3 separate regions of the Homo sapiens genome follow, and regions 1 and 3 are each linked to region 2. Evidence: promoter capture Hi-C in human tissues and cell types (Jung and others, 2019). All regions are on one chromosome and are shown on one strand. Each heading gives the region's core, a stretch centred on a gene start or on the middle of the fragment in contact. The rest is flanking DNA. Distances are from core to core; before and after follow the strand shown.

Region 1 (3,368 bases), core at 310-2,809, 250 kb before region 2:
TTTACCAGGTGGTTCAGGGTTCCAAGCATGAGTGTTCTAGTGCACAAGGCTGGATTGCCAAGCTTCATTATCATGTCCACAGTGGTCTGTTGGTTGAAACAGTCACAAGCCTGCCCATAGTCAAGAGGTGTGGCCATAGACACTTCCTCCTCCACCTCTCCATGAAGAGTATAAAAAAAGTTAGGACCCTGTTTAAAAACTGCTACTTACTTTATCCAGCCCTCTCATAGTCATATTCAACTCTGAAGAATTTTTCTTTAGATATTTTCCCAAAGGGACTACATGTTCATAAACCCCCTACATGTGGGTGAAGGCCAATTAAACTGCCATGGGATGATTTTTCTTTCTCATGGGAAGCAGATAGAATTAACAGACTGTGGCTGCTGTTTTTAAACAAGGTATGCCAGTATCTGTATCCCTTCTGAGATGCGTTGTGTTTCTTCAGTGAGGGAGAACATGTAATTAATCCCTGTTGAAAGCCCTTTTATTTAGAAATCATGCTTGCTTTTACTCTTTATTATTTGGATATATATCTATGTCTGGAAATAGACTGAGAGGAAACTTGCCTGTTGATATCTTAATAAAAGTAATTAAAACATTCCCAGGGCCAGGACTAGGATGAGGTGAGTGAGGCACTTGCTTCAGCTGTAAAATTTAAGGCTACGCCAAAAAACTCAGTAATCCAAATAAATATTTTCATGTGATATTAAAGAAAGTTAAATCTAATGCCAAGCAATCTATAATCAAATATCAAAGTTTTAGATAAAGACAGTACATTATTTTCCAAGGGCTGCTGTAACAAAGTACCAAAAACTGGGTGGCTTAAAAGAACATACATTTCTTTTCTGTCAGTTCTGGAGGCCAGGGGCTCTCAGGAGGAAACCTCATGCCTCTCTGCTAGCTTCGGGTCATTGCCTGCAATCCCTGGTGTTTGTTGGCTTGTCTCCACTCATCTTCGCCTTCATCGTCATGAGTTCTTCCCTATGTGTCTCTGTGTCCTCTCCTTTTCTTTTGAGGACACCAGTCACTGGACTTAGGGCCCATTCTAATCCAATATGACCTCATTTTAAATAATTATATTTGCAAAGACCCTGTTTCCAAATAAGATCACATTCTGAGGCTCTGGGTGGACATGAATGTTTTGGAGGCACTATTGAACAATACAGACAGGATCAGTGTCACTGATTTTTTTTTTTTTTTGCCATAAGATCCAATATGGCTGAGCATGGTAACCTCCAATCTGCCTCAATGTCCAAAAACTTGCTCACACCTATTACAGGAGTAGATATTAAATGTGTTTTGGGCCAGGCACAGTGGCTCATGCCTGTAATTCCAGCACTTTGGGAGGCCGAAGCAGGTGGATCACCTGAGGTTGAGAGTTCGAGACCAGCCTGACCAACATGAAGAAACCCTGTCTCTACTAAAATTACAACAAAATTAGCCAGACGTGGTGGTGCATGCCTGTAATCCCAGCTACTTGGGAGGCTGAGGCAGGAGAATCTCTTGAACCCAGGAGGCTGAGGTTGCCTTGAGCTGAGATCACGCCATTGCGCTCCAGCCTGGACAACAAGAGCAAAACTCTGTCTCAAAAAAAAAAAATAATAAAATAAATGTATTTTGACTCAAAATAGACAATACATTATGAGATTTTTTTTAGTAGTTAGCATGGGCTGGCTACTGCCAGGTGAGCTGCTGTTCCATCACCTCTGGAACCAAAGACTGAGAAGTTTCACCCACTCATCTATTTCAGCTTCCACATGCCTATATGATGACTTCTAAATCTGTCTCTCCTGCCTCACTACTGTATGAATTCTAGATTCCTTTTTCCAACGGCTCCTGGACAGCCCAACTTGTTAGCCTAAAGGCATCTCAAATGTAACTTGTATTTCAATGAAGCATTTATGTCTTCTTGTCCTCTTCCCCATCTCCTTCATTGGCATATTCATCCTCCCCATCCCCTAAAACAAACCTTGAGAGTCTCTCTACTCTGGTCTCTCCCTCTTTTCCAGCATCTTATCTGGTTCCACCTCAGAGACAATTCTGGATCACCTTCCTCTGCCATGATTCTCAACCTTTTATCAGCAGGTATCATCTTGGGTATGGAGATGTTCCTATAGAATATAATGTTTATCGTAATCTGCTTGGAAAATAAGAGTTGTGACTGTGTAACAGGTTTAGATACTAAATATGTTTTGCCTCAGAAAATACAGTGAATTATACACAATTTTGTTAGCATGACTTTGACATTGTATATGGTTATATATATAAAATAGACATATACTCTATATTATATATATAAACTATATATTTTATATATTCATAAACCCTATATATTTATACACACACACACACACACACACATATATATATAAAGAGAGTGAGAGAGAGCAAGCATGAGCCTGGGCTTTCATGATTCTGCCCTCAGCCTCAGAAAGGCATTATGGGCATGCACTACCACCCTCATACTGGATGTTATGTTTTGATGCTTTAGTATTGCTAAACCTGGTCATCCAAAGCAAATTCCTTCTAGTCTTCTTTTTGCTGTAATAGAAACTCTGCTCGTCCTGAGGATGCTGCTCCCTTGTGGCCCTCTCTAGTGTAGCTGTTCACAGGCCTCCTACCCCTCGCTCTGAAGCAAAGTGGAAGTCCTCCCTTCTCCTTCTGGTCACTTCTGGACCATTTTTCCCCCCTCCACCCTACCTGCCCCAGTTTTTAGTCTCACGTTAGCAGATTGGCATGCTCTGTTCATGAACCTCCTGAGTTCTTCTCCCTGGTTTTTTGAAGATTTTTACCTTCAGGTTCACTGCCATTCTCTGAAATGACACCTGATTTCAGCATCCAAGTAGATGATCTTCCAGGAGCCACGTTTCATGGTTTCTTGACTTCTCCTTTTCCAACAATTTTGTTCTCTCTCTGTAGCAGCCACTCTACTCCATGGACCTACTTTAAACTGTGTTATCTCACATCCAAGCCATCATCTCAGTCTTTCTTTACCACTTCTAATCTTTGCAGCTCACTCTTCCTAGTTCTTTTCACCCCACATTATATTCTCACTATTCTCTTTACCTGGTTTAAATTCCATGATCAGTCATTATAATCACTCCCTTGCATAATCTCAGCACCCAACTAAACCCACCCAGCATAATATAATTGCAGAAAGACACACAACCATGCTTCCTGGGCTCACTCTAAATGACCCCAACCTTGAGTGGACTCTTAATTCTGTGTGGCAACCACATATTTCCCTGGAACATTCACCTTCTCCTAGATAACCCTTCTGATAATAAACACACTCTCCTGGATACCTAGTTTTCATTCCTTCCCTTCTTTCTTCTGACCTCTCATACTTCTCCCATCATCACTCTGTC
Region 2 (3,512 bases), core at 646-3,145:
GCAGCACATTTTAGATTATTTCCTTATATCTGTCTTCCAGTTCATTAATATTCTTTTCAGCTTTGCCTAATTTGCCACTTAATCCATGCCTTGAGCTTTTAAAATTTTCAATTAACTTTTTTTTTTAATTCTAGAAGTTTTATTTGGTTCTTTAAAAAAAATCACCTAGCCTTTTTCTTTTTGACAATGTCTTATTCTTTTCTCATATTTCCAATTCCTTCTTTTAGAGCTTCAGTAGTTTTAAACATATTTATTTTCTAGTTTTTTGGCTGATATTTCAACTAAATGCAGTTCTTGGGGAGAGGTGTCTAATCCTTTTTGGTTTCTGCTGATTCTCATTTATAGTGGTTTGCTTCCTCATATGTTCAAATATCATTGTGAATTCTTTTTTGTTTTCACAGTGGCAGATAGTATATATTTGAATTCTAAACATATCTGAGGGCAGGCCCAATTTCACAAACTCAAAGGGACCTTGTAGAGTTCAAAGAGAGACATGATTGCTTCCTACCTCTTTGTGCTAGGGCAGAGTGGGATTGTACCTACTGAAATACAGTAGGTAACCCTGTGAGGGTCCTGGCTTTCATGAGGATCTCCCTTCTAACTCTCCACCTTTGGCCTAAGCTTTGCTTCCACATGGTCATCAACATTTGGTGGTTATAGAACTAATAACCCCTATCTCACTTCACTCCTATGCCAGAGGGGCCCTAGCATCAGCTCATGGGATTGTTGTTTTTGCTTTCCTCTCTATCTTTGGCTCCGGGATTTTCCCCTTACTTTAATGGGAGCTCATCTGTACCTTTTAAGTTTTTATTAATATCATGTGAACACAGACCTGTATATATTGTTAGAAGCAGAAATCTCTAAGTTTACTTTTAAAACATGATCCTTGCCTCGAAACCTTGTAGAATAATATAATGTCCACATAATACCAAGTTATGAAAAGAAACATACCTAAATAACTAAATAAGTATATTCCTTTTTTCCCCCAGCTTTTTTTCCCCATTCTAGGTTTACCCAGTTGTACTGTGTTGTTTGTCATAGGCCGGGTGAGGTGGCTCACGTCTGTAATCCTAGCAATTTGGGAGGCGAAGGCGGGTGGATCGCCTGAGGTCAGGAGTTCGAGACCAGCCTGGCTAACATGGTGAAACCCTGTCTCTACTAAAAATACAAAAATTAACTGGGTGTGGTGGCGGGTGCCTGTAATTCCAGCTACTTGGGAAGCTGAGGTAGGAGAATCGCTTGAACCCAGGATGCGGAGGTTGCAGTGAGCCGAGATCACACCATTGCACTCCAGCCTGGGCAACAAGAGCGAAATTCAGTCTCAAAAAAAAAAATTATCTATAAAAGTATAGGTGCAACTCCTCAAGTATTAAAGACAAGATAGCTCGGATTGGACTTGACTTTCAGAGCCATAACTATTCTTAATATGTTGGTTTATCTTGGAATCAGACCATTTTCAGTTTCAACCTGTAAAACAGTGTACAAAGGAAACATGGAAAGTTTTCTATATATAAAGGGTTGTGAAATAATAACAGCTCACAGAAAATGCTGAAATGATGATTTGCTTCAGTACCCTCTGAAATTTCTCCCCTACCACCCCTCCTTCATCCCCATTGCTATCAATTCAAATTACAACAGCTAATTCTCAGGAGAACAGTAGAAGCCCAGTTTCTCTCCTCTTTCCCCTCTGACCCTCCTCCAATTAATCTGACTGCAGCGTAAACCTTTGCGGTTTAATATTGTGCAACTTCCACATTTCCCTCGCTCTCCCACCCAGCCCCCTCCCCCACCAAATTCAGGGGAACTCCCGTTACCGCAGTGCCACCAGCATTACTCATTCATCCCCATTCAGGCTTTCCTCAGCATTTATTAAGGACTCTCTGCTCCAGCCTCTCACTCTCACTCTCCTCCGCTCAAACTCAGCTCACTTGAGAGTCTCCTCCCGCCAGCTGTGGAAAGAACTTTGCGTCTCTCCAGCAATGCATCTCCTTGCGATTCTGTTTTGTGCTCTCTGGTCTGCAGTGTTGGCCGAGAACTCGGATGATTATGATCTCATGTATGTGAATTTGGACAACGAAATAGACAATGGACTCCATCCCACTGAGGACCGTAAGTTCACTTTAACTGTTTCTCTGCTAACCCTGACTACATATCCACCTCTTGGTCTAAATAACACACATATACTTTGTGGCCAGTGAGACAAGTTAAAAATTTATAGCTTGTTATGCAAAAGTGAGAAGCACTTGAAGAAAGATGGAGGTTTCAAAGTTATTTCTGTAACGTACATAATGGGTTGAATCATATCAAATCGTCAATATTTGACTGTTTTGAGCTACATAACCGGCGATTTCATAGGGTACAACTTAATCTATACCTGAATGAATGATTTCTGTCGTTTCTGAGACATTTACATGCTGTTTTTCGGAGGTGTCCTTAAAGGGAAGGGGAATGCCAGGAACGGGCTGCAACTTGGCACCACCGAGGGAGGTCAGCTTTTACAAAGCACATCCAAGGCAGGCCTGGGCGGGCTGCTAACGTGTGTGTATCCCGTACTCTAGCCACGCCGTGCGCCTGCGGTCAGGAGCACTCGGAATGGGACAAGCTCTTCATCATGCTGGAGAACTCGCAGATGAGAGAGCGCATGCTGCTGCAAGCCACGGACGACGTCCTGCGGGGCGAGCTGCAGAGGCTGCGGGAGGAGCTGGGCCGGCTCGCGGAAAGCCTGGCGAGGCCGTGCGCGCCGGGGGCTCCCGCAGAGGCCAGGCTGACCAGTGCTCTGGACGAGCTGCTGCAGGCGACCCGCGACGCGGGCCGCAGGCTGGCGCGTATGGAGGGCGCGGAGGCGCAGCGCCCAGAGGAGGCGGGGCGCGCCCTGGCCGCGGTGCTAGAGGAGCTGCGGCAGACGCGAGCCGACCTGCACGCGGTGCAGGGCTGGGCTGCCCGGAGCTGGCTGCCGGCAGGTAAGGAGGCAAGCGGGGCCGGGACCTCCCACTGCGGCTTTGTTCCGGGAGCGCGCGTAACGGCAAGCCAAGCCAGGCAACCTTCTAGGGGAAGCTTTCATGGGAAGCGCGCGCGCGCGCGCGCACACACACACACACACACACACACACACACACACCCCTATTTCTGCATGCGCGGTCACAGAGCTCAGGCACACCATACAAGGCGGGAAAATTGGCTTTAAAAAAGTATTCCTCAGTCCTAAGGAGCCCTAAAGAGAGTTGTGGAGGTAACCATCACAGTCTTGAAATAGACGTCTAGGGCCCCTTACACCCGATCCGACTAAGCGCTGCAGGAGTCCACTGGCCCGTTATAACCGTGATCCCTCTTGCCGCCCAGCTTCCCTCCGTTAGGGATTTCCACGTCTTCTAATTTTATCCTGCCTCTGTCTTTAGAGGAGCTCTGGTTTCCCGCACTATTTCAGGGCCCAGGCTAACGTTTAGGGATGTTTTCCAGCCCCTCAGCCGGCCCCTCCTCTCCGCCCACCCATTCTCAGCAAGAAACTTGAGGCT
Region 3 (3,793 bases), core at 511-3,010, 130 kb before region 2:
TCGTGATCCGCCCGCCTCGGCCTCCCAAAGTGCTGGGATTACAGGCGTGAGCCACCGCGCCCGGCCTCTATCTGTCTTAAAAATATTCTTTTACCTGGATTCAGGACTAGACCTACAAAAAATATTCTTTTATATGGTTGTATAATAATTTCATTCTCCTATCTTTAGACATTTAGGCTATTTATAAATCCCTCTGCAATACTTTTTGTGTTTGTTTATCTTAAGTTTTGTACATGTTTCAGATTACTTCTTTAGAACAGATTCTTAGAAGTGGAATCACTGTGTGAAAGGATATGAATATTTTTAAGACTCTTGAACTGCATTGCTAAATTGCTTTTTAGAAATGTTGAAATAATTTACACTTCAACTTAGAAACGTGTGAGTGCCTTAACTCTTGCTCAAGCCAGCACTGATTATTGTATTTTAAAAAATGTGTTAAAAAGGGTAACTTATTTTAACTTTGACTACTTTGCCTACTAATAAGGCTGAATATCTTTTACGGACTCAGTCTCCTAAGTATTTGCTCATGTTCTTCGTTCATTGATTATTGATTTTCATGAACTTATAGTAGTAGCTTAAGGATATTAAACTTTGTTTTTCATGCTTGTTACAAATATTTTCATTTAAAATTATTGTGCATAAAAGGTTTTGCTCTTTACAGACTTTATATTTTATGTAGTCAAACCTACCAATTCTTTACTCTTTGACATTAGTTACAGGTTAAATTAAATTTAAAAAACAAAGACAGAAAAGCATCTACAAAAGACACTTTAACAAATACCCATGTACCTGCCAGCCAGACTTAACAAATGCTAATATTTTGCTTCTGGTTATTTAACAATAAAATTACAGATGAAATTGAGATCTCCTTAATTCCCTTCCCCGGTAACATTTTCCTCCTTCCTTTCCTCACTTTCTCCTTACCCAAAGGCAACCTCATCATGAATTTTGTATAATTCTAAATATAGTGTATTTTTATCATAAGTATATGTATGTATAAATAATGCATAACACTGCTTGGTGTGTTTTAAAAATTTATACAATAACATTTATGCTATCATAGTATTCATATCATAGTTTTGCAACTTGCTTATTAAAACTCAATATCATATTTTCAAGATTTATCCCATGCTATTACATATAGGTCTAATTAATTCACTTTACCTGCCTGTATAACATGACTATACCACAACGTTTTTTTTCCACATTCCTCTATCAAGGGACATTTGGGTTGCTCCTGATTTTTTGCTGCAAAAAATGCTTCAGTTAGTATTTCTGTACATGTTTTCTGATGCACATATGTAAGAGTTCATCTAGAAATAGAACTGCAGAAAAATAGGGCACATGAAATTATAATATAACCACTGATTATATTATAAAGAGCAGATTGCTCTTTAAGAAGTCTGAAAATGAAAATTTGTGGGTTTTGGTTACATGGATGAATGAAGTCTGAGATTTTAGTGCACCCTTCATCTAAATAATGTACACTGTACCCAATATGTAGTTTTTTAGCTTCCAAGTCTCCAATATCCATTATACCACTCTGTACGCCTTTACATACTCATAGCTTAGCTCCCACTTACAAGTGAGAAAATACAGTATTTGGTTTTTTATTTCTGACTTACTTCACTTAGAATAATGGCCTCCTGCTCCAGCCAAGTTGCTGCAAAAGACATTATTTTGTTCTTTTTAATAGCTGAGTAGTATTAGCACATTTTATATACTGTAATACAAAAACCTTCTTGTATTTAAGCATTTTTATGATCAGCTTTAAATGGAATTAAGACTTCAGAAATAAAGTTACTCACCCATCTTAACAGTAATCTAGCTGTCATTTTTGAGTCTAATTAATGACTATATATATATATATGTTCTTAAGTGTTCTTTTTTCTAAACAGGTATACCTATTTTCCTTCCATCAAGAGTGTGTGAACATTCCCACTTTTTCACATCTTTGCCAAGACTTGTATTGTCACATTTTTCTTATCCTGGAGCTATAAAGATAACTTTCGATATTTTCTTCTAATTGTTATAAGATTTCATTGATTACATTTAAGCCTTTAATTTATGTGGAGTTAATTGATCTATATGGTGTCTGTGAAGGATCTACTTTTATCTTTTCAGCTTGGAAAAGTTACATGTCCTTACATTATTTAAAACATATTTTACTTTCTCTTCGCTGATTTGTAATCCCCCTTCTATCACCTACCAAGCTTTCATATATGATTGGGACTGTTTCTGGGCTCTTTATTATTTACCATTAATTTATCCCTGTGGAAATAATCACATGAGTTTTCTCTTTCTGTACCATAAAAATTTCCTCCCCCACAGTCTTTCTTAGGATTTTGTTTATTCTAAATTTAGGACCAGTTTGTCAAACTCCATGAGAAAAGTCTGTTGTCATTAGGATTGGTTATGAAATTGTAATTACATTTTAATTTGGGAGAAAATTTTCATTTATATGATAATGGTTGTTCTTGACCATGAAAAGATCATATCTTTTCATTAATTCAGGTCTTTAAAATTTTTTTCATTAATATTAAAAAATTTTTTATCATTAAAGAGTTTCACAGCTTTTCTTATATTTATTCCTAGGTCCTTTATAGTCTTTACTGCTATTATAGATGGCATGCTTTTCTACATTTTCTATTTAGTTATTACTCACGTATAGATTTGTTATTGATTTTATATGTTGATCTTATATCAAATAACTTTATGGATCTTTTATATAAGTTCTAAAGGTTAGATTCTTTTGAACTTTCCACACAAATAATCTTATTGTCTATAAATAATTTCTCTTTCCCTCATCCTCCCTCTCATCTCTATCTCTTTCTCTTTCTGGTTTATTCTTTTAATCCTTATACTTAACTGCTTTTGTCTCCCTGCATTGGGTAGGATCACTGTAAAATGCTAAATTTTGAAGGTGATGACAGGTATCCTTGTTTAATTTCTAATTATAGCAAACACCTTTACATTTTTTCTGTATGTACAAAATTAGCTCTAGGGTTTTGATATCATTCTCTTTTATGTAGGCTTTTTAAAAAGGATTCGTTTCATACGTAGCTAAACAATTGTATATATACATTAACTGATTATATGTATATATTTGAGTTGGTTTCTGGACTAGTCTGTTCCATTTATCTGCATTAATTCTTTCCATAAAAGTGGAGTAATTTAATAATTGTAGGTTTTATAGTGTGCTTAAATGTTTTGGAATGTCCTTTTTTTTGCCCCTCTCAAAAATTTTCAAACTAGTCTCACCTATTTATCCTTCTGGCTGTATTTTACCATCACTTCATAAGAGATAAAAAATAATTCTCTTAGAATTTAAATTGGAACTCAGTTAAAGTGCTAATTAACTTAGGAAGTATTAACATTTTTGTCATATTTGCTATTTCCAATCAGGAACGTGGTAATATCACTGTTCATTCAAGTGTATTTCTCTCCATTGCTCTGTGACTTTGAGAAAATTAATCTTTCTTCTACTTAGTTTACTCATTTGTAAGATGATAATAATAATGCTGTCTATCTCATAGTGTTGTCATTGGGATTAAGTGAACTAATTGATGTTAAATGAACAGGACAATTAGTGGCACATTCTAAATGACCAGTAAAGTTAATTATTATTATTAATTCTAATAGTGTTCCTTGTATTTTCATATTAACTAAAAGTAATGTTGAATTTATCTTCTTATTTCAAATAGTATACTCCTTATTTCTGTCTTGTGTTCTATTTGTTGTTGTTGTTATTATTATTATTATTATTAATGCCTAGTATGAGCCAGGCATGCTC

The links. Contacts are between HindIII fragments. The study calls those that stand out against the background at their distance.
Region 1: a fragment that was not itself captured here is called in contact with the fragment with the promoter of PTX3 in region 2 in 2 of the 25 tissues and cell types used here (spleen and thymus).
Region 3: a fragment that was not itself captured here is called in contact with the fragment with the promoter of PTX3 in region 2 in 1 of the 25 tissues and cell types used here (IMR-90 fibroblasts).

The regions. Positions count from the first base shown.
Region 1 is chr3:157,180,498-157,183,865 of GRCh38, forward strand. The region is part of intron 2 of LOC101928236 (a long non-coding RNA gene); the gene reads left to right. Among named protein-coding and RNA genes, the nearest start is that of CCNL1, 22 kb to the left of the region's middle. The HindIII fragment of the contact is 6,456 bases long and covers 1-3,368 here.
Region 2 is chr3:157,434,955-157,438,466 of GRCh38, forward strand. PTX3 (pentraxin 3) reads left to right here and starts at 1,896. Exons shown (of 3, transcript NM_002852.4): 1 at 1,896-2,109; 2 at 2,559-2,960. The coding sequence starts at 1,980. All of the region lies in intron 4 of VEPH1 (ventricular zone expressed PH domain containing 1), which reads right to left. The HindIII fragment of the contact is 4,814 bases long and covers 1-3,512 here.
Region 3 is chr3:157,305,344-157,309,136 of GRCh38, forward strand. The region is part of intron 11 of VEPH1 (ventricular zone expressed PH domain containing 1); the gene reads right to left. All of the region lies in intron 5 of LOC101928236 (a long non-coding RNA gene), which reads left to right. Among named protein-coding and RNA genes, the nearest start is that of PTX3, 130 kb to the right of the region's middle. The HindIII fragment of the contact is 8,313 bases long and covers 1-3,793 here.